Linked DNA regions of Homo sapiens: regions 1, 3, 4, 5 and 6 are each linked to region 2. The links are contacts of gene promoters, found by promoter capture Hi-C in blood cells and fetal thymus (Javierre and others, 2016). All regions are on one chromosome and are shown on one strand. The core of a region is centred on a gene start or on the middle of the fragment in contact, and the rest is flanking DNA. Distances in the headings are between cores, read along the strand shown.

Region 1 (3,406 bases), core at 381-2,880, 620 kb after region 2:
CTCCCTTTAGCATAGCTGTGATAGGCTGAGAGCACTCTCAGAATTTAATTAATTCTCAAGGAAAATCAATGGGGGAGAAACACAGATATATAAGATAGGATTCAATTTCCAAAGATTACCTTCTGATCTGGTCACATCAGGTGCTTCCAGGCCTTAAAGGCCTTATCATCTTTTCAAAGTCACATTGTCTTGACATGCCTGTATCCTATCCCGCATCGCTATAATTTTGTGGAACCTCATCTGTGACTCTACTTCCTAAGTCTGAGCATGTTTATGACTAGAGAGTACCAGGTTAACAGCAATTTTTCAAGAGCTATCTCAGAAACAACTGGAAGCTTCTGAAATCAGGGCAAAGAAATTCCAGTTCCCCATTGTCCTCCACCTAGGGCTCTCCTTCTGAGTTCAGTTTTCATATGACTCTTTCCCAGGTGTCTTTTTAATTACCGTAACGTTCATATAACAAGACTTCTGCCCTGAAAAGATCCTTAGAGTCTGTCAATTCCAATCTGTTCCCTTTACAGAAGAAGAAATGTTACAGAGAGATAGAGATAAGAGAAAATGCAGTGAAGAATCCATACCCTTTTGTATCTTTAGGGCAAAGCATTACAGCAAACATAGGGAAATGAATAGAAAATTATAGACACTTTGGAGATGTCATAGTCTAGAATGAAAATTCCATGAGCCATCTGGCCTCTTCATTGCTGTGTCTCTTGTTCCTCTCTCATGCTAGAAACTCAAGACATTTTGTATTATTGAAACTGTGACCCAAACAGTTAAAGAAACCAGTGACTAGATAAGAAAAGAAAAAACTTGCTGAAATGCGGAAACTCCCTCTGCTTGCAACATAACAAACCTAGCTGAAATCAGTTGGAACCAATATGGCCAAATGGAGTCAGTGCAGAACGAGCTTGCTGATGTCACAACCCAAATTTCCACTGCATGTTTCACACTAACTTCCCCCAAATTTGCAACATGTGACCCATGAGGAAGCGTGCAGAGATAACTGTGTGTGCCAAGGATTTTCTGGATCTCCCCTTTCCTTCCACCAATCACCAGTTAATCTCAGAATCCACCCCTAACCCTTTTCTAATAAAAATACTGCCTTAAAGTCAGCACAAGGAGACAGATTTGAGCTGAACTTCTGTCCCCTTGTTGGTCGACCTACAATAAAAAGCTTTTATTTTCTCAAAACCCCAGTGTCATAGTATTGGTTTCTAGCACTTCAGGCAGCAAGGCCTTTTGCTTGGTAACAATATGAATAAATGTCAAACTTTGTTTAAGTAAATTACCCACATAGATACCTAATTGTGGAGACAAGCAGAATGAGTATGTAAATTACCCTGGCCTGAGAGCTTTCTCTGGGTTGCCTGGCAACCAAGGTAGCCTGAAAGCCCCACCTCTCCTAGGAGAGGCTACAAGTTCTCATAGGACCAGGGACATTCCTTTCTCCAGTGGGAGTGGCTGTCTCAAACTAACTTCCCACAGGTTTAGGACCCCTAAAGCCTCCAGGTGCTGAGCCTCTGGCATTTCCTAGCAATCCCCTAAACAGCTAGAACCTAAGCTCAGGCAGCTTAGTAGCTGAGCCCAAAATATTGATTTTCTCAGACTGCTCTCACACCAAGAGGCTGTAATTCAGAGACAGACCCCACTCCTATAACGATGGAAAACAACAGGAAGTGGGATGTCTCCCTTGCCGCAAGGCCCCTCAGTGTGTTTGTCGCTGCTCTGGCCATAGTCCGCCTCTCTGGGGATGCCAACACAAGAAAGGACACATCACCTGCGGACCTATTTGTGAGTTTCAGTCTGCTCGCTGCTGGTTACCCACCCCTTGCACCAATTCACAACACCACGAGTTAGAATAGAATCATTGTCATGTTTAGAACCTGAAGCTATTCTCATTGTACCAATGTGGTAACTGAGGACCAAATAAATTGAGTGCCGGTCGTAAGTCATGTGGTAACTAATGACAATCAGGAGTATATCCCAAGCCTCCTGGGTGCTTCCTCAGATCAGTTATTTGGTCACTTAGGGTGAAAAAGGGTGATTAATGCATGTATTAGGGCTTATGGGGTGGAAGGACCTAGACATAAGCTTTTGGAACTGCAATAGCCCTCCCATAGATCATGGGAAGTCTATTACCCTCCCAAGGATTTCTGCAAACTCCTTATGGGCTGTATTTTCAGAATAATCTTCAGTATCCATTTCTGCTGATTAGATCTGTTTCTGCTGATTAGAGAACTCGGTATTCAAATTTCCAGTGGTCTCATAAATACAATTTTTAAAGTTCAGTTTCTTTGAAACGGGATTCAAATAAACCAAACTTTAAAAATTATATTTGTGAGATCACTGGAAATCTTGTGACTAGTGGATATGTTCCTAAGTCTTTATTAATTAATAAGTTCTATTTCCACCTCTTGTTATGTAGTCCTTTCAATTTATCTGTTGAATAAGCCAAGGTTTCCCACAGTTTGGATTTTGTCAATTGTATCCTTGTGGCATTAATTAATATGGTTCTCTGTTAATTCATTAGGGATTTTTTAAATGGTGTTAGTCTATGTTACTTCTTCATTTATTAGCCAGAATAATAACTTCTATAAAGAGAAACTTTCCCTGATTGACCGTTATGTTATTCAGAGCTGTTTCTAATGGGGAAGACAGGATAGGTGCTTGATTCTCTCCCTTAATTTGTCTGTTTTCAATAATGAAAAATATTTGAAGATAACTACTGAGTTTTTTTAAAAAAATTATGAAGTCATGAATTTAAATATATTTTGCATCTTTTAGCTAATTGCAGTCTTTGTGCTATTTTTTTTTTTTTTTTGAGATGGAGTCTTGCTCTGTTGCCCAGGCTGGAGTGCAGTGGCATGATCTCGGCTCACTGCAAGCTCCGCCTGCCAGGTTCACGCCATTCTCCTGCCTCAGCCTCCCGAATAGCTGGGACCACAGGCACCCGCCACCACGCCAGGCTAATTTTTTTGTATTTTTAGTAGAGACGGGGTTTCACTGTGTTAGCCAGGATGATCTCGATCTCCTGACCTCGTGATCCACCCACCTCGGCCTCCCAAAGTGCTGGGATTACAGGCGTGAGCCACTGCGCCCGGCCGTCTTTGTTCTTTTGAATGCATAAATGTCACATCTTTGGCCAGTGGGAGCCTATTTGAGTTGGCTTTTGAATCATTTGATTCATCTTGTGTATTTCAGATCTAGAATCATATTTCTCTTGAGAATCTTGGTTTCTTTTACTGAAAAATGGTATGTGGGCCACAGTCTAGAAACTGGGAGCATTCATTGTTACTAGGTTGTTCATTGTTTCTTGGGATTTTTTTTAGCATGAAATATATTGAGAGTTCATATTGAGACTTCCAGTGCAAATTTAGTTCTGTAGAGTCTTATTTTTTTTATCTTC
Region 2 (3,556 bases), core at 11-2,510:
AGCTGGCTGGGCAGGGTGGCTCATGTCTATAATCTCAGCATTCTAGGACAGTGATGTGGGAGGATTATTTGAGGCTAGGAGTTCCAGTTCGAAACCAGCTTCGTAAACATAGCAAGACCCAGTCTCTACCAAAAAAAAAAAAAAAAAAAAAAAAAAAAAAAATATATATATATATATACACACACACACACACATATGTACACATACATATATATACATATATATGTATATATAGAACACATGGCAAGAGCAGGAAATGGGAAGACTACCTTTTTTCTGGCAGCTATGTGTTGTTTTGTTCGAAAGATGGCAAGTGTACAACCAAACCAATCCACTTGCTTACAGAAAGAATGTTTAGTGTAGTTAAGACTAATTTGACAACAGATAAAACAGTCTGTCAGCTATTACAAAGTAATCAGCTGAACACTAATGCTGTTCTGTCTGCTCACAAGAGATAAAGATACCCTCTCATGGAATAAACACCTTGCTTAGAATTCATATAACAAAGAAGTAACCTTATAACTGCTCTCTAGTCTGCCTTATTTGTGTCATAGAGTAAGATATTCCTTGAAAGCCCATTAAGTGGAATAGACTTTCTGAAAATAAGAGTTCTTTACCTCAGTCCTCCTCTAATTTGGTTGAGAGGAGGTAATGAAAATGGGGACAGGATAAAAGGTGGCAACTAAATTTAAAGCACAGAAGAAATGATTTCCTTCTAGCTATGAGAATAGTCAAATTGAGCTTGCCAGGCTGTCTCATTCCTAACATGTAATTCATGATTTAGCCACTAAATTTCTAAGGAGATCATAAGAAATTAAGAAAAACGTTTAAGTCTAGCCTCTGCGTGGTAGACAGGTATGGGGAGGGAGAATGCTTTTCCCCTCCCAGTAATAAAAAAAAAAAAAAAAAAAATATATATATATATATATATATATATATATATATATATATATATATATATATATATAGTTTTACTAGGTTTTCATGGATAAGTTTTTAAATGTAAGACAGGAAAGGGATCTATTTGATGTCTATCTTCAGATATATTGGCAGTTTTCCTTAAGCTATTTAGTTCCTCATCTGTTGCTTTTTCATTTTGTATACTGCAAGTTCCCAGGCAACTCGAATTTGCAAACACAGCCATGGATACACTATTTACCTTACAGTAGTTTCCTGGGAATCTAAGTCTGGTTTTTGTTATTCTTCCCTCCCCTCCACTGCATAATCATGTATAACTAGCAACATTTATGGTTATAGGTTGATTTCCTAAGTGTGGCTGATGGTAGCCTCTAGTTTGAAGTGAGGGAAGAATGAGTAGTCAGGAACTGGTCACTTTGAATGTGGGAGGGAAGATATTCACGACAAGGTTTTCTACGATAAAGCAGTTTCCTGCTTCTCGTTTGGCACGCATGTTAGATGGCAGAGACCAAGAATTCAAGATGGTTGGTGGCCAGATTTTTGTAGACAGAGATGGTGATTTGTTTAGTTTCATCTTAGATTTTTTGAGAACTCACCAGCTTTTATTACCCACTGAATTTTCAGACTATCTTAGGCTTCAGAGAGAGGCTCTTTTCTATGAACTTCGTTCTCTAGTTGATCTCTTAAACCCATACCTGCTACAGCCAAGACCTGCTCTTGTGGAGGTACATTTCCTAAGCCGGAACACTCAAGCTTTTTTCAGGGTGTTTGGCTCTTGCAGCAAAACAATTGAGATGCTAACAGGGAGGATTACAGTGTTTACAGAACAACCTTCAGCGCCGACCTGGAATGGTAACTTTTTCCCTCCTCAGATGACCTTACTTCCACTGCCTCCACAAAGACCTTCTTACCATGACCTGGTTTTCCAGTGTGGTTCTGACAGCACTACTGATAACCAAACTGGAGTCAGGTATTTTGTACTTTGCAGTATTTCTCTTGTATACCAGTTTGTGATGTTTTCTCTAAAAACTTGAAGTTCCTCAGGCCTGTAACTTCTGGAAAAGATGATTATTCAAAATAATGTTTTGGGGTAACCAGTGGAGTTGGGTAGAATGACCAAATAATTATTTTCCAAACTGGGATACTTTTTAGAGTGAAAGGGGCTATTATTAGGTGGGACAAAAGGAATAAATGAAGACTGCCCAGAAAAAACTGAGACTATGGACATTCAAATCATGGGAGAAAATAATTTTGTAGATTATGTTCCATTGCTAATGAATTTGACTTAGAAAAGAATTGCCTTATTTTTAAGAGATTGTTTCAGTGGTTCACATAAAGGCTCGCTCACTGGTTTCTCTTGAGTTCCTTACACACTATATAAGTTGTTCTTTCAGTTTTATGATTCAACTACTGTTTTTCCTTCAGCTGACTTTATTTTTAAACACCCTTAAAGACAGATATATCTCATGGCAAATTTGGTATCCTGTTACAGCCTTGGCTCTTAAACAACTCAAAATATTGGGATAGGCTGTCAGTATGTTAAGGATAGTTGCTCCTGAGTCAATTCTTCACTTACTCCCTCTGTTGTTCTTGGCTGGATCCTAACGCTGATTTCCACTCTGCTGTCACAAACATTTTTCCCCCCGTAAAATGTCTTAATGCTGTCCTACCATTATTTTACCAACTGTGAAAGCTGGCTTTAATTTTTAGGAGGAAAAGAAAAGCCTGCATGTGTTCTTTATTGGTATCATTTAAAATATACTTTTTTTTTTTTTTTTGGTAAAGGTAGGCGTATTTTAAGATATTTTCTTAACTTGAGCAGTAGCCAACAGGAAGGATACCAGTGTCTCTCTCTCTTAGCGACACACTCCTTGGTCTTGCTTACCAACTGGAGGACACTAGGTAGAATAACCGAGTATGACAATTCTTAATTGTTTACATTTTATAACTTCCTGTCCTTCAAAAGAGTTTGAAATGTCATTTTGGGAAAAGAGAGCCAGTCAAGCTAGTAGGCTGATTGTGAAGAAAATCTAATACCTTATCTTTATCTCAAACCTCTGTACAACTTTATTTTCATTGATGGGATACTTTAACAAAAATGAAATTTTTTTTGGTTTTTAAAATATGAGTGATTATGACCTCTTTGGGGATCATGCTTCAAAAAGTCAGAAACCTAGAGACAAAACTGTCATTGATTTTTAAGAAGAAACACACTAGGTCAAAAGAAGATGTCCTGGAAATACGAAGTACTCTTTAAAAACCATGCATTTGGAGAAAGTAATTGTTTCCTTGAAAAACATGATTAAAAACTAAAACTGGGATGTTCCTGTGTGTACACAGTGCCAAATGGTTTTCCCTTTTTATGTTGTGTTTTAGAAACAGCACGAAAGTTTTTTCCATTTTAAAGTGAGAAAACATTATATTTAGACTTCCATAATTCCAAAATCAGAAGCTATTTTTAAAATTAGCATTTTCTTGCATCACCAAATGGTATTCAATTGTTTGAAGCTCAAAATTTTTACCATTCCATAAATGTTTGTGAATTTTTAGACAGTGCCAATTTAAAAGTAGAGATAGCCAATCTGAATACGGTGAAATTATGGGGATCTCTGGTGATTGGGATGAAAACTCTGGCCTT
Region 3 (3,238 bases), core at 682-3,181, 720 kb after region 2:
ATCAGCAAGTCTATTGGAGCCATTTTCTCAACAGCGTGTGCTTGTTTTGTGTCTCTGTGATCACATTTTGGTAATTCTTCCAATAATTCAAACTTTTTAATTATTATTATATCTATTATGGTGATCTGTGATCAGTAATCCTTGATGTTACTATTGTAATTGTTTTAGGGCACCATAAGCCATGCCCATAGAAGATGACAGACTTGATGGATCAATGTTGTGCGTGTTCCGACTGCCACACCAACTAGCCATTCCCCATCTCTCTCCCTTTCCTTGGGCCTCTAATTCCCTGAGACACAACAATATTGCAGTAAAGCCAATTAGTAACCCTACAGTGGCCTCTAAGTGTACAGGTGAAAGGAAAATGTCTCTCTTCCTTTAAATTGATGTCTCTTGCTTTAAAGTAAAAGCTAGCCATGATTAAACTTAGTGAGCAAGGCCTGTAAAAACCCAAGATGGGCCAAAAGCTACAGTTGCACCAAACTGTAAACCAAGATGTGAATGCAAAGAAAAAAATTCCTGAAGCAATTTAAAAGTGTTACTCCAGTAAACACACGAATGATAAGAAAGTGATTGCTTATTGCTGATATGGAGGAAGTTTGAATGGTCTGGATAGTAAATCAAACCATCCACAACATTCCCTTAAGCCAAAGCCTAACTCAGAGCAAGACCCTGACTCTTTTCAATTCTGTAAAGGCTAAGAAAGCTGCAGAAGAAATGCTTGGAACTAGCAGAGGTTGGTTTATGAAGTTTAATAGATGAAGCAGTATAACATGTTAATGGTAGAATTTAGATGGTGAGTTCTTAACATAAAATTATTTCAACTTTTCTATATGTCTGAAATTTTTCATAATAAAACATTGGGAAAAAAACCTCAGCAGTAACCACTGCCATTGTTTCAAACCTAGACTCACAAGATATTTTTTGGGAGAGGAGTATTTTATCACTGACATTGTTTAGAATTGCCAGTACATGGTGATAATAAAAAGCAGACCAACGTTCAGTCAGACTTATTCTTGTTTTTAAATTCTCAATGGCAATGCACATCTTATTGCCTGCACCCAGGGTAGGCCCTCCTACTGCTTTTGGTACATGATTAGTGTCATGGAATTGGAAAAAGTGTAATGACAAGAACCTGCCTGATTCCAAAGTTCTTCCCATGCCAACAAACTCTTTCCACATTACCCTGCTACCTACACAGCAAATCATACAAAGATGAAAAAGATACAAATCTTGCCTACAATGAGATCATAGTATAGTGGAGACAGATCCATACTTATATATTTGTGATACAAGATGAATATCATGTATTTTCAAATAACATGCTGGAAGAAAATGGGGGAAAGTTTCTTGAAAGAGATAGTATCTGAGGTGTACTGTGTTGGCTACTTAAACTCATGCGATGTTCATAAGCTTAAGCTGAAAATTCTTAACATGATCTACAAGTTCTTAGGTGATCTGGTCCCTTTCTACCTCTCTATCCTCATTCTGGACATCTCCCAGTGAGCAGCCTCTAAAAAATAATACACACACACACACACACACACACACACACACACACACACACGCACACACACACAAACACTGGCCACACTGGCCTGATTTCTGTTCTTCTTATCATGTTCTTTCCTGCCTTGCGGCTTTACCAGGGACCTACCCTACCAGGAATGCTCTTCCTTTATTTCCTCCTCTCCTCCCACCTAGCTCAATCCTACTCATTCTTCAGCAGTTAGATACAAGACTGCTTTCTCAGTAAATTCTTCTCGGACCTCTCAGGCTGGGTTGCTTCCCTTTTTTTCTTCTTTGGGACACAGAACACAACTGTTACTATACCACTTCTGTGTAAATTTCATTGTGGTCCAGATTAGAAGATCTGCATCATCTGGAACCAAATTTGACTTGTTTCCAACAGTAACCCAGTAGGCATTCAATAAATGTTTGTTGACTGAATAGACCTTCATGGCCTAGTAGGTGAATCCATGAATGAACAAAGGGCAGGCCTTTAACACTCAGTTATGAATGGAGATGAAGGCAAATGCCATCTGGAGACAGGCAAACCTTGAGCCAAAACCCAGACGGGGAAGGAATGAGAAGAGAAACAGAGACATGGGTGTTAGGTACTTTCTGAGACTGATTTTTTAACTCTCAAGAGGCTTTTGTGCTTATCCTGGAGGGGACCAGATATGAACTACCTTTTGTAAAAAATAGGTGGATTAGAGGAACGAGAGAGAATCTGCAAAAATTCTCTCACCAGCCATATCTCTAATTAAAGTTTCTAGGGAATGTTCTTTTTCTGCTACATCTCACAACACCAAAGAGACCAAAACTGGGATGTGGCCAGATCCCTGAGAATTCTCACTTTCTTATCAGCACAGTCCAACCCTACCTAGTCCCTTTTGGCCAAATGCTTAGATACATAATGACACTAGACTCCCTGTTGGGGGCATGTAAAGCTTCCCAAAGAAATGATTCTAGATGCCTAGATTTTTTTTTTATTAAATCAGAAATGGGTTAATGAATGGTAGGGCATATAGAGAGAGAATGTGTAGAGAGTTGATCCCTGCCTTGTTGTCGAGACCACACACTAGTTCATTGATTTCTGCTCCATTTCCTTAGTCCTGACAGGAATTTAAATGTTTCAAGTTCTTTTAAGCCTGAAAATGTTTGAAAAGCTTTATTCCAAAAAGGTGCTTACACATTTTTTTCCTGCAGTATTTAGGCTTCTATTTATTGATCCCTTGGTACATTCCATCCTGATGATGGGCAAATGGGAAAAGGATGAAAACTGAAACGGTATGCACAACAACCTCAAACCATAATAGTGTAACAGTAAACCATTCTTTCAACATCTGGAATCCTGTGGGCAACTTTCCTAATAAGAAAATCAAGTCAATTTAAATCCATGTCCACACAAAGACTTACAAACCATAGGCTTATTTCTTTTAATCTTTTCTGAAGTTTCTCTGTGACTAAACCTGAATTTCAATTTCCTGGTGTGCATAAAATTAGGATATTAGACTAATGGAGTTCTGCCTACTCCCATGACAGATAGAACAGGCATTGCTAATCACTTACAGAAAACTTCACAAAACAGTATACCAGGCAGTCACTACCATTCCACTCAAGACTACACATGAGCTGAAATCTATTTGCTGTCCTGGAACAAAGAGGTCCCCAAGCCTTTTTATCGCTAATCTCTGAAGTCTATGGTTCTAAAGGAAGCCTATATGAGGCGATA
Region 4 (3,258 bases), core at 144-2,643, 580 kb after region 2:
TAAAATAACATACATAGGATTAATTTCTAGAATTGGGATTTCTAGGTCAAAGAGTAAATGCATTTGCAATTTTGACATATTTGGCTAAATTATCCTCTGTAAAGGTTTTATATCTTCTCACCCCTCATAAGCTTATTCCCCCAACATTCTTCTTTTTCAGTCTTTCCATTTGAGAGGAGTAAGCATCTTTTCATACTTTAAATGGCTACATTCAGTTCATTTTCTGTGAGCTGTTCGTTTATTTATTTTGCTCATTTTTTACATTGGATTGTTGAAGTTTTTTTTAGTGATTTGTCAGAGTTCTTTATGTATAAAGGAAATGAATCCCTTGTGATACAATCTGCAATTTTTTTCTAGTTGACTTGCTTTCAACTTACTTGTGGTGGCTTTTGCTGTTGGGTTTATTTGTAGACTTATTTATTTATTTGTTTTCTCTCTCTGCAGACAACTTTCCTTCAGACTATGTGTTTTTTTAACTCCATATGTGGCATAATCTATTCTGATTTTTCTAAAGAAAGAGAAAGAAGTAAAGGATGCAGGGCAAAAAGCTATCCATATGATTTAGGTCTTAGGAGACTCAGGAAATTGATAGGCAACATTGAACATTTTAAATTCAGCACTTACTAAGGGTTTTGTGTTAAGTTTTTGTATCTATCTATAACAATAGCAACTTTCATTAGTGCATAGTACAATAATAGAATATATATATCTTAAAAACAATTTTGTTTTTTGTCTCAGTCAGAAAGCACAACCGTGTGCACAGTCACCTAACCATGTCTATTCCCTGTCTCTTGCTTTCCTTTTTCAAAGCATGTTTTGCTCTGTGGGTGTGCATGCCTGTGCGTGTGTTTTGTTTTTAAAGACATTGCTCATGTGCATAGTGCAAAGGTCATTAAAGAGAAAATTTGATTAGTTATTAAGTATGTTGTAAATATATTGGTATTGAAGACTATTTATTATATTTCCAAAGAAAAGATAAATGTTTCAAATACTTTAAGATAAAGAAGACTTCTGTTGAAATCCCCAATTAACTTTAAACTTTTCAAATCAGCAATCAGAATGAAAGGTGGTTAACCATCTGACATTTTGGCAATCTTGTGACATATACCGTAGTAAAGGCCAAAAAAACTGGAATTGAGTTTCATGAGAGGGAACAGATTCTAAGATTCGAGTGCAGAGGTGCCTGCATTATTCGAGTGCAGAGGTGCCTGCATTATTGTGGCTCTATTTGCTGTCTATTTCACTTGCCTATGCTTTGGGCCAGTGTAGGCCTCTTCTCTTTTCACTTTAAGCCTGTGGTTAATTTTCAAGTAAGAGGGCCCCATGGGGTGAGGCCCAGAGGAGGCGAAGGCTGGGGGTAGGTCAGGCGGGGGCGGGTGGGGGGGGGCCTGCAGACCACAGCCTCTGTTTATCCGCAGTGCAGGTGCAAGGCAGTGGCGGGAAGGCGGTGCCCCTGGGACTTCTCCCAATCAATCACCCCACCTAGGCCACCGGGTGGCCCCTTGGGGCTGCCTCACACAAAGTGCAGCCTTTCTCTGACATCCCAAACAGGCAGAGAGGCCAGAGTTCACAGAGAGCAGGGCTTTCACTACTTGGCTGTTTTTAAAATGTAGTCAAGTTAAACTGCAGGGAGAGTCCCAAATGGTAAAAATCTAAATAGTCTCACTTTCAGTCCATCTCCCTGCTCCCTGGAGCTGCTCTGACCTTACCTTCGATTTCCTGTCTTGAGCCTCCCCTCTCCATTTGAGGGGGTCACTGTTGTTTTTTCCCTCCTGTGAAACTCCTGCTTAGCTTCCAGCCTTTGGAGAAAGTGCTTAATATTTTCAGCAGTGGAGACTTCCTTTGCAGGCTTCAGAAAGACAATTTTCTTCGGGGAAGAAAGAAAGTGAGACCATAGCCAATGCAGCAGCTGACAGCCTCTAGCCAGACAGATGTTAGAGGAGGCAGAAGTGAGGAAAGATACAATATACTTTGGGGAATTTGTTAATCTGAAATTATTAATTATACTCTTGCTAAAGGCATTGTATTAAAAATCGGGCAACAAGAGAAAGAAGTAGAGATGCAGTTTCTACAATTCAGTTCACAATATACTTGAAAAGATCAAATAATGGCACATCAAAAGTAGAAACAGTAAATGGGTTAGCTCGGGGTTTAAATCCTAGTGCTGCTAGTTCATAGCTATATGACCCTGGCAAATTGCTTAACCTCTCTGAGCCTCTATTTTCTCATGAGTAAAGTGGAGATAGTGAGAGTATATACCTCCTAGGATTGCCCTGAGGATTAAATGAGATAAGTATGTAAAGTGCATGTCACTGGACTTGGCCTTCAGCAAGACTTAGTGAATGTGAGTGTTCATTGGTACAAACTCTGTATATGTTACAAGAGTACACAGTAGGACTCCTAGGAGTTCAGAAACGGGCAGGGCCCCCGTGGCTGGGATGATCAGAGAGAAGCTGCCACGAGGGGAGAAAGATTTGGCTTGAGTCAGAGAAAAGTAAAAGAACTTATATATGTGGAGGATTTTAGCTGAGGGGATGGCAAGTGGGTGGTACTGAGGCTCCCACGGCCTCCCCATTTTATGTGAACAAGATGAACTTCACTATTATCATGTTATATATTGGGGGGCCAGGGTCTTCCAAGTAAGACTTGGTGTGAAGAAGCTTTTTGTTCACACACACACACACAAATTGAAAACCAATGACTTGCTTAAAGGCAACTGGTGGATGAGACAAGAGCAGTATCTGAAAAGAAGATTTACATTCCCTAATGTGCATTTGTTCAGGGAGTCATTTGATAAACTTACCGAGGACCTCTTATGTTCTAGGTAAGAGGTGGAGGACACAAAGATCACTGAGATACTGTGGCTCCTGCTCCCGGCTTCTACTCGTGGGACAGTCAGCCACTTAAGTGAACATAAGATGAGCAAAGGGTGCCTGGGGCCATCACACTGAGCAAAGAGCCATCGGGGCCATCACATTTGCCAGGAGCACAAGGGTGGAAACTGAAAGGCTTCACTGATAGAAGTGACATGTGGGCTATGTGGCTGAGTGATGCATGCTGCCTCTTTATGTTTCAGGATATCAAGCAGTGTCTTGTCCCCTCCAAAGATGCACTTGAGGGGCTCCCCTCTGTCAAAGCGATGGGGCAGGCAGTGTGCAGGAGGAAGAAAGGCTAGACTCAGCCACAGGACCCCAAGTGTGAGCAGGGGAGCCACAGCAGTGCCCTCAGCAGAGCCTTGCTGGGAGCCTCCACCTGCAG
Region 5 (3,500 bases), core at 992-3,491, 510 kb after region 2:
CTCATGGGAGGGCGCCTGGTGTTCACCACATGTGTACACTGTTGCACGACCAGGTTGGCACTTTGCATGTGGGAAACGATCAGAGAATGGTGGGGGATGCTTAAGAGGCATCACTGGAATCCTACGGTACCACAGACCAGAGCCTTCCCTTCCCTTCCTCTCCCACAGATGGAAATTTGAATGCTGGGGCTCAGTGGAACACCTGAAGGAAGCTGGTGAGGCAGATGTCCCGCTATGCCTTCCAAGTGTCATGCAACCAGTTCATGCCTGTCAGCATCTCTGCCGGTGGACTCTGTGAGTCAGCAAATCTACAGAGCAGAGAGCCACAAGTGGGGACAGATGTGGTCAAATGCCATTTAAATCAGTGATTCTCAACCCAGGAGTTGTCATGGCACTGGCCTTGAGTGAGCTGGACCAAGGGAAGTGGTAGAATTCCCCATGAAGGACCAAGTGAGCAGATAGAAGTTTCTCCATTTTAACTTTTTCTGAGTCAATTTAAAAAACACCTAGTGCCTTTTTCTGTACATAGTGCCTGTGGGTTTGAATTTAAGCCTACCCAAATGTGCTTTTATCCCACCTATTTTGAACCTTGCATGTCTCCGGGATAAGAATTAACATAAGCTATAAATATTCTTCCAGGACTAATTATTAACCGTGAATGTTGAGCGGCCTTGACAAATATAAAATGTTATATATAGGCCCAAGAGTAGATCAGAGAGTTATCTATCTACTTCAAGTTGAGACTCAGAGTTTTCATTAAACTCTGCAGTCTCACAGTATTTCCAATCATTTCAGGGCAGACGAAAGTTCCGTGGTATATCTTTTTAATGTGGCAGGCCTCGAGGGTGGATTGAGTTAGGCAATTTATCCCCTTTTATGCCCTATATTCACATGCAACACTCCAATGGGGTAACATAAAACCACAGACAGGTTTCTTTACACCGGTATTTAAGGGAACTAGGAAAGCAGCCCAAATCATGTGGAGAAAGCTGGGGAAAGAAGTATCAGAGGAGAAAGAGGACCTTAGCAGAAATGACAAAAGTGAAAAACCTTCCTAACTCCTTCAGACATGATGCTTAAAATTGTGTTTCTTTGGCAACTTATAATTTTCTGAAGCTGGTTCTCAGCCTCAGATCCTCCCCCAAGGTTTTTATGTTGTATTTTGACTCAGTAGGAGGGATCCAGTCCCAGACCTTCCGGCTCTCACCAGTACACCACAGGCTAACGCCATCCAGCAATCAGATGACAGGAGGAGGAGAGGTTCAAAGAGGACTACTGTATTTCTCAGAAGGGGCTGGCTCATCTACCCTCCACTGTATTACTCACACTGTAGATGCAGAAAACATGTCAAAGTATACTGGGGCTCTGCAATGCATGCACCCACACACATGTACACATACGCACAGACTTCCAAACTAAAAAGGAGAACAGAGCTCAAAAGGGGACAGTGTGCAACTGGTGCTCCATGTTGTAAGGACCTCCCCTCCTGCGGGCGCGGCTACCCCAGCAGGCTTGTCCGGGCATGTCCGCCCAGTTGACGCCAGGCCAAGTTTTACGGGAGGAATTGGCCTGTGTCTAAAGCTGGAGTTCAGCTTTGCTGACTATGGAGACTGATCTGTTGGTTGTCAGCAAAGAAAAGGTGGTTTCAAAAGAGCAGCAGAGGACTCTGTGCTAGTTGCTACTGGCCAGCTTTGACTCCGATTGGAAGCTTGAAAAACATAGATTGGAAGCTATGCAGAATATCCAGTGACAGAAATAAATCAGAGATTGCCAGGGGCTGAGGGTGAGAGGAAGGAGATTGACTTCAAAGGGGCACAGATAATTTCTCAGGGTGTCGGAAATATTCTGTCTTGATTGAGGTGGTGATTACTCGACTGTATATGCTTGTAAAAATTTGTAGAACTGTGTGCCTGAAAAGGGTGAATTCTACTGTATGTAAATTATAACTCGATAAACCTGATTTTTAAAAACACTGTAGTTTGGGAGGCCATATAAAACCAAATAACATTTTGAGTCATTAATGCCTCTTTAAGAATATTTTGGATTGATTTTTTTTATTAGATTAAAAAAATTCTTCATGGTAAATATTAATTAACCCTTTAAGAGCCAAGTGGAGGAGTGGAATCTGTATGTTTTAGAGTTGTTTGTTCTTTTTAGTTGGTCACTTTACACACTTAATTTTCAATTTTATTTAGAAAAAGAAGTTATGCTTATGAAGCATAAAAGCTGTAATTCCAAAAGTTGAATTGGTTTTGAGACCCCAAAGTCATGACTATGTAGAGAATTTCTAAATTCTTAAGGATAACCTATTTAGGAAAACCTAAGAAATCAACTATTACAACTAATGCTTCATTATGATACCTGGTTACAAAATATAAAAAATATCCATAATCAGATAATAATCGTAAAGAGGGAAAAGAGCTCTTTTACAACAGGGGAAAAACAAAGCAAAACAAGCAAGAATAAGAACAATAAAACCTGGAAACAAACTTGTTTGTTTATATAGGGCTTCTATCAATTTAGTTGTAAAACTTTAGTTAATATGAAATCAGGCTTGAATAAATTGAGACATATTTTATATTATTGGATGATGTCACTGTTCCTCAAATTGATGGTTAGGTCCAATATGATTCTAATCAAAATCCCAATTGGAATATTTTTGAATGAAAATGTGACTGTAAGGTTTATCTAGAATAATTTGTGGATAAAAATAACCAAGAAAGATTTATAAACAAATAAGGTAAACTGTACTTCAGGTGTTAAAAACCTGTTATAAAGCTTTAATAACATGATATTGGTATACAACTAGACAGAGAGAAGAGAATAGAGTCCCCAAACACACTCAAATACATATAAGAATTTAGTATTTGATGAAGACACTTCAAATTAGGGAAGGAAATGAAAGATTATGCCAGTGAATAGTGCTGGGGAAATTAATTCAGTTTTTAAGGGAAGGAGGAGACCCAAATCATATCCCTAAATAAATTCTGGATGAATTAAATAAATTTTAAAATATGAAAACACAAATGAGTAAAAGAAATTATGATAAGTATCTATCAACTCTCAATGTATGGAAGCACTTTTTAAACAAAAAGGTAGAGGAAGAATCTATAAAAGAGAAAACAGAATGTTTTTACATAAAAATTATAAACATATACATCAAAACTCATGATAAAGAAACATAAGGCAAAGAATAACTTGAAAAAAGGGCAAAATAGAAGACAAAGGTTAACATGGTTAATATGTGAAGAGCTTCCGAAGTCAATGATTAGAAGATAAATATCCTAAGCAGAAAAATTTTCAATATTCACAAAAAAGGAATTTGTACGAGCAGAAAAAAATTAGACAATAAATCATGAAAAAATTTCAGGCTCACTATTTATTTAAAAATAATTTTAAAAGACACAAATTTCTGTCCATTAAATTAGCAAATATTTTAAATTTCAAAAAACTTTGATAATTACATAGTTGGGTAAAAGTTCAAGATAAAGGAAAATCTC
Region 6 (3,579 bases), core at 158-2,657, 760 kb after region 2:
AACTTTAGTGGAAAAAAACATATAAATGTGAATTTCACTCAGTAAGGGTCAAATCCCCACCAGTTTCTGCTAGCTTTTGTTTATCTCCGAATTGTTTGTTCCCAGAGTTTACAATAGCTATTGGCAGGAAAGTATTCAAATTTTCACTTTGCCATTAGTCTCTTTTTTATAATTCTCATCTGTTTTCCCTTTGTTATCTTTGGGATAATTTCATCACATTTATCTTTCCATGCATTAAATCTTCCTCTAGCTTTGTTTTGGTGACTATTTAATCTATCAATTGAGTTTTATTTTCAATAATTGTGTTTTTTATTTCTAGGAAATCTGTTTTTTCAAATCAGCCTTTTATTCCCATGAAGATGTTGTTTGTTTCTTACATTTTAAATTCCTTTTTGAGCTCCTAGTCATTTTTACAATACCTGTTTTTATAATCTCTCTCTGGGACTTGTATTACCTGTATATCCTCAAGGGTCAAATCAAGTTACTTATTCAGTCAGTTGACTTCTACTCTTGGTAGATGGTATCATTGTATGTTTGAGTTTTTGACTCAGTTTTGGATTTTGAATTTATCTGCAGCTGAGTTTTATCTGTGGAAATGATCTATGGTCCTTGGTGAAGGGTACTGCCTTCCAAAGAGGTTTTGTGTTGAATTGCCGGATAGCCCAGTGCTGTCACTGGCCTGGGCACACTTTTCACTAATTTCTTAGCTTCAGGATTCCTGCACCTTTGTGAGCTCTTTTCCAACCACAGTCAGGGCTAAAATAGCTAATTCCCTGACATATCCTTATATTGATGGGTGGCTTTATTTATAGTTCTTCCTTTTAACAAGGGATTAACCATTTAAGAGTCATGGCTCCATAGGAGGTTTGTGAGCCTCTTGTGGGTCCCAGATCTCAATTCCTATTCCTAAATAGTCATTATAACCCAAGTCTCTTGGTCACTAAGACAGGAAACTACCTCACCCCCAAATCCAGGAAAGGCATACCATCAGCTCATAGGGTCACCACTTCAGGGCTTTATCTCACTCTTTAAAGAGTTTGGCTAAACATTTAAAATGTTGATTTTCATATCTCATCTATAGTTACTAGATCTGTTATTAAGGGAGGGTTTCTATTATCTTTTTTGCCATGTTCTGGAATAGAAATCCTGTTTCTACATTTGTTTGTAAGCAGCCTAATCAAATAATGGTTTTAAACAGAGACTACTTATTGGTGGCTTATAGGTTTTGCTTGTTTGTTTGTTTGTTTTTTAAGCTGAACATTTCACATGAAAATCCAGATTTCCATCTTCTCTTGAAAATGTTGAATCTTGGGTGATATTAGGCCACATTCTCCCATGGCACCAGTAAGCTGGAACTTAGTAGTGGCTTCCCCCTTTGAAAAGGGATAAATGCTCCAGAGCTTCCCATGGCCACTACAGCACCCTACAGACTTACAACTAACCTGCTTTACTTTCCTGGCTACGGAAAGTATTTAAGTTTCTAATCACTGAACTAATAGACTTGTCACAGTTAATACTGAGTGTCAACTTGATCGGATTGAAGGATGCAAAATATTGATCCTGGGTGTGTCTGTGAGGGTGCTGCCAAAGGAGATTAACATTTGAGTCAGTGGGCTGGGAAAGGCAGACCCACCCTTAATCTGGGTGGGCACCATCTAATCAGCTGCCAGCATGGCCCGGATAAAGCAGGCAGAAAAACGTGAAAAGGCTAGACTGGCTTAGCCTCCCAACCTACATCTTTTTCCTATGCTGTATGCTTCCTGCCCTTGAACATCAGACCTCGAGTTCTTCAGCTTTGGGACTCGGACTGGCTTCCTTGCTCCTCAGCTTGTAGACAGCCTGTTGTGGAACCTTGTGATCATGTGAGTTTAATACTCCTTAATAAACCCATGTATATATCCTATTAGTTCTGTCCCTTTAGAGAACACTAATATAAGACTCTATCACATTTTTATGCATGGCATTACATGAAGAATTTCTTCTTTTGGGAAGCCTTTTTTGTTCATTCCCACAATCCATTGTTTAAAGTAATATCTTTCTCTCATCATTTAACAGGATTAGATCAAAGATGTCCCTAAGAAGCGTTGAGATGTCACAAAGTTCTAGGTAAGGAGAGAGCTTTAGTTTATGTAAATTTCATCTTTCCATAAACCTGCCCTCACCTTTCTAACCTTTTTCCTCCCCTGTATTAAGAAATATCTAACTTTATATTTCATTAGGAGGGGCATGATAAAGTAAGCAGAACACCGCAGTGGGCATCAGAATGCATTCCATTTCCAGACCTATCTCTTACCATCTGGATATCTCACTCTCAGGAAGATCAAGTGACAAACCTGGATTAGTCCATTTTCACACTGCTACAAGGAACTACCTGAGACTGGGTAGTTTATGAAGAAAAGAGGTTTAATTGATTCATAGTTCTGCAGCCTTAACAGGAAGCATGACTTGGGGGTCTCAGGAAACTTATACAATCATAGCAGAAAGTGAAGGGGAAGCAAGGTATGTCTTCTCGTGGTAGCAGGGGAGAGAGAGAGCAAAGGGGGAACTGGCACACAGTTTTAACCATCATATCTGGTGAGAACTCATTCACTATCACAAAAACAGCACAGGGCAAACCACCCTCATGATCTAGTTACCTCCTACCAGGTCCCTTCCCTGACATGTGGGGATTACGATTTGACGTGAGATTTTGGTAGGGACACAGCCAAACCAGATTAAAACCCAGACTCTCAATCTCCATCTCTGACTTCCTCCATCTGCTGCTTCCTCCTTCTTCTTTCCATCCCATAGCTATGAGAAATCAGGTGGGTGCTCTTCTATTCATCTCATGAACTACTGGACATGTTTACATTTGGGGAACTTAAAAATAAAAATGAACCAGATAGCTGTTGGCTGTTGTCTTTTTGTGAAGAATAATTTTAGGGATCAAAAGACAAAAAGAAAAACATTCTTTGTATCAGAGAATAGCATTATGATCTCCACACATAGTGCCAGCTCTTTTAACTTTGAAGGTCAAATTTCCTAGTTTTCCAAATGTCCACTGATTCCCTTTAAACAAAACCCTGTCTGGGCAAAATAAAACATGTCCATGAACTCAATTTAGATAAAGCTGATTTGGCCTATGAGCCGTGAATTTAAATAAAGAAATCTTAAATAATGGAAAAAATTGCTTTTGATTTATGTGTTTAATAAGTTAGCTATGTTAAGCTTCAAAATGTAGCACTTAATTTTCTATCTTTTTGCATTGTGGAATGATTCCATGTATAAATCTCTAGCCTCTTGTTAGTCCCAATAGGCGATCAAACTATTGACACATTTGTATTTTCTCACAAAGGCCTACTAGGGTGTGAGATAAAGGACAGGTGCTTAGTCCAGCTAACGTGTTCCTGGGATTGTAGATTTAGAAAGTACCTCAAAGGCTTCTAGTCCAAAGACAGCAAAAAACACAGCACGTTGTACAGCCAGCGTGACAGATATCGCCAAGCACAGGAGCAGAAATTCCCACCCTTAGAGCTTTCATTACCTTGAATTAAGATTCGGAATCTCCCCAAGTCCTATTTTTGAAGAAAAGCATTTCCA

The links. Contacts are between HindIII fragments. The CHiCAGO score rates a contact against its expected background, and 5 or more counts as called.
Region 1: a fragment that was not itself captured here is called in contact with the fragment with the promoter of KCNRG in region 2 in 1 of 17 cell types (naive B cells); the score reaches 5.1 in naive B cells.
Region 3: a fragment that was not itself captured here is called in contact with the fragment with the promoter of KCNRG in region 2 in 1 of 17 cell types (naive B cells); the score reaches 5.2 in naive B cells.
Region 4: a contact is called between a fragment that was not itself captured here and the fragment with the promoter of KCNRG in region 2, in 1 of 17 cell types (total B cells). The highest score is 6.2, in total B cells.
Region 5: a fragment that was not itself captured here is called in contact with the fragment with the promoter of KCNRG in region 2 in 2 of 17 cell types (total CD8 T cells and megakaryocytes); the score reaches 5.3 in total CD8 T cells.
Region 6: a contact is called between a fragment that was not itself captured here and the fragment with the promoter of KCNRG in region 2, in 3 of 17 cell types (total B cells, naive B cells and naive CD4 T cells). The highest score is 8.7, in total B cells.

Annotation. Positions count from the first base shown.
Region 1 is chr13:50,634,802-50,638,207 of GRCh38, forward strand. No RefSeq gene overlaps it. Among named protein-coding and RNA genes, the nearest start is that of DLEU1-AS1, 110 kb to the left of the region's middle. RefSeq lists enhancers at 676-875, 1,272-1,566 and a silencer at 1,272-1,566. The HindIII fragment of the contact is 917 bases long and covers 1,173-2,089 here.
Region 2 is chr13:50,014,184-50,017,739 of GRCh38, forward strand. KCNRG (potassium channel regulator) reads left to right here and starts at 1,261. Exons shown (of 2, transcript NM_173605.2): 1 at 1,261-1,888. The coding sequence starts at 1,311. It overlaps TRIM13 (tripartite motif containing 13), which reads left to right. Exons shown (of 2, transcript NM_213590.3): 2 at 1-3,556. All of the region lies in intron 10 of DLEU2 (deleted in lymphocytic leukemia 2), which reads right to left. The HindIII fragment of the contact is 12,687 bases long and covers 1-1,669 here.
Region 3 is chr13:50,737,438-50,740,675 of GRCh38, forward strand. It overlaps a transcript of DLEU7 not described here. Among named protein-coding and RNA genes, the nearest start is that of DLEU7-AS1, 69 kb to the right of the region's middle. The HindIII fragment of the contact is 1,040 bases long and covers 1,412-2,451 here.
Region 4 is chr13:50,593,138-50,596,395 of GRCh38, forward strand. No RefSeq gene overlaps it. Among named protein-coding and RNA genes, the nearest start is that of DLEU1-AS1, 67 kb to the left of the region's middle. RefSeq lists a silencer at 1,340-1,539 and an enhancer at 1,640-1,839. The HindIII fragment of the contact is 2,529 bases long and covers 130-2,658 here.
Region 5 is chr13:50,528,012-50,531,511 of GRCh38, forward strand. DLEU1 (deleted in lymphocytic leukemia 1) reads left to right here. Exons shown (of 7, transcript NR_109974.1): 6 at 1-53; 7 at 169-632. Among named protein-coding and RNA genes, the nearest start is that of DLEU1-AS1, 2.3 kb to the left of the region's middle. RefSeq lists enhancers at 821-2,020, 961-1,649, 1,650-2,338. The HindIII fragment of the contact is 1,070 bases long and covers 1,707-2,776 here.
Region 6 is chr13:50,775,682-50,779,260 of GRCh38, forward strand. It overlaps a transcript of DLEU7 not described here. Among named protein-coding and RNA genes, the nearest start is that of DLEU7-AS1, 30 kb to the right of the region's middle. The HindIII fragment of the contact is 3,595 bases long and covers 1-3,205 here.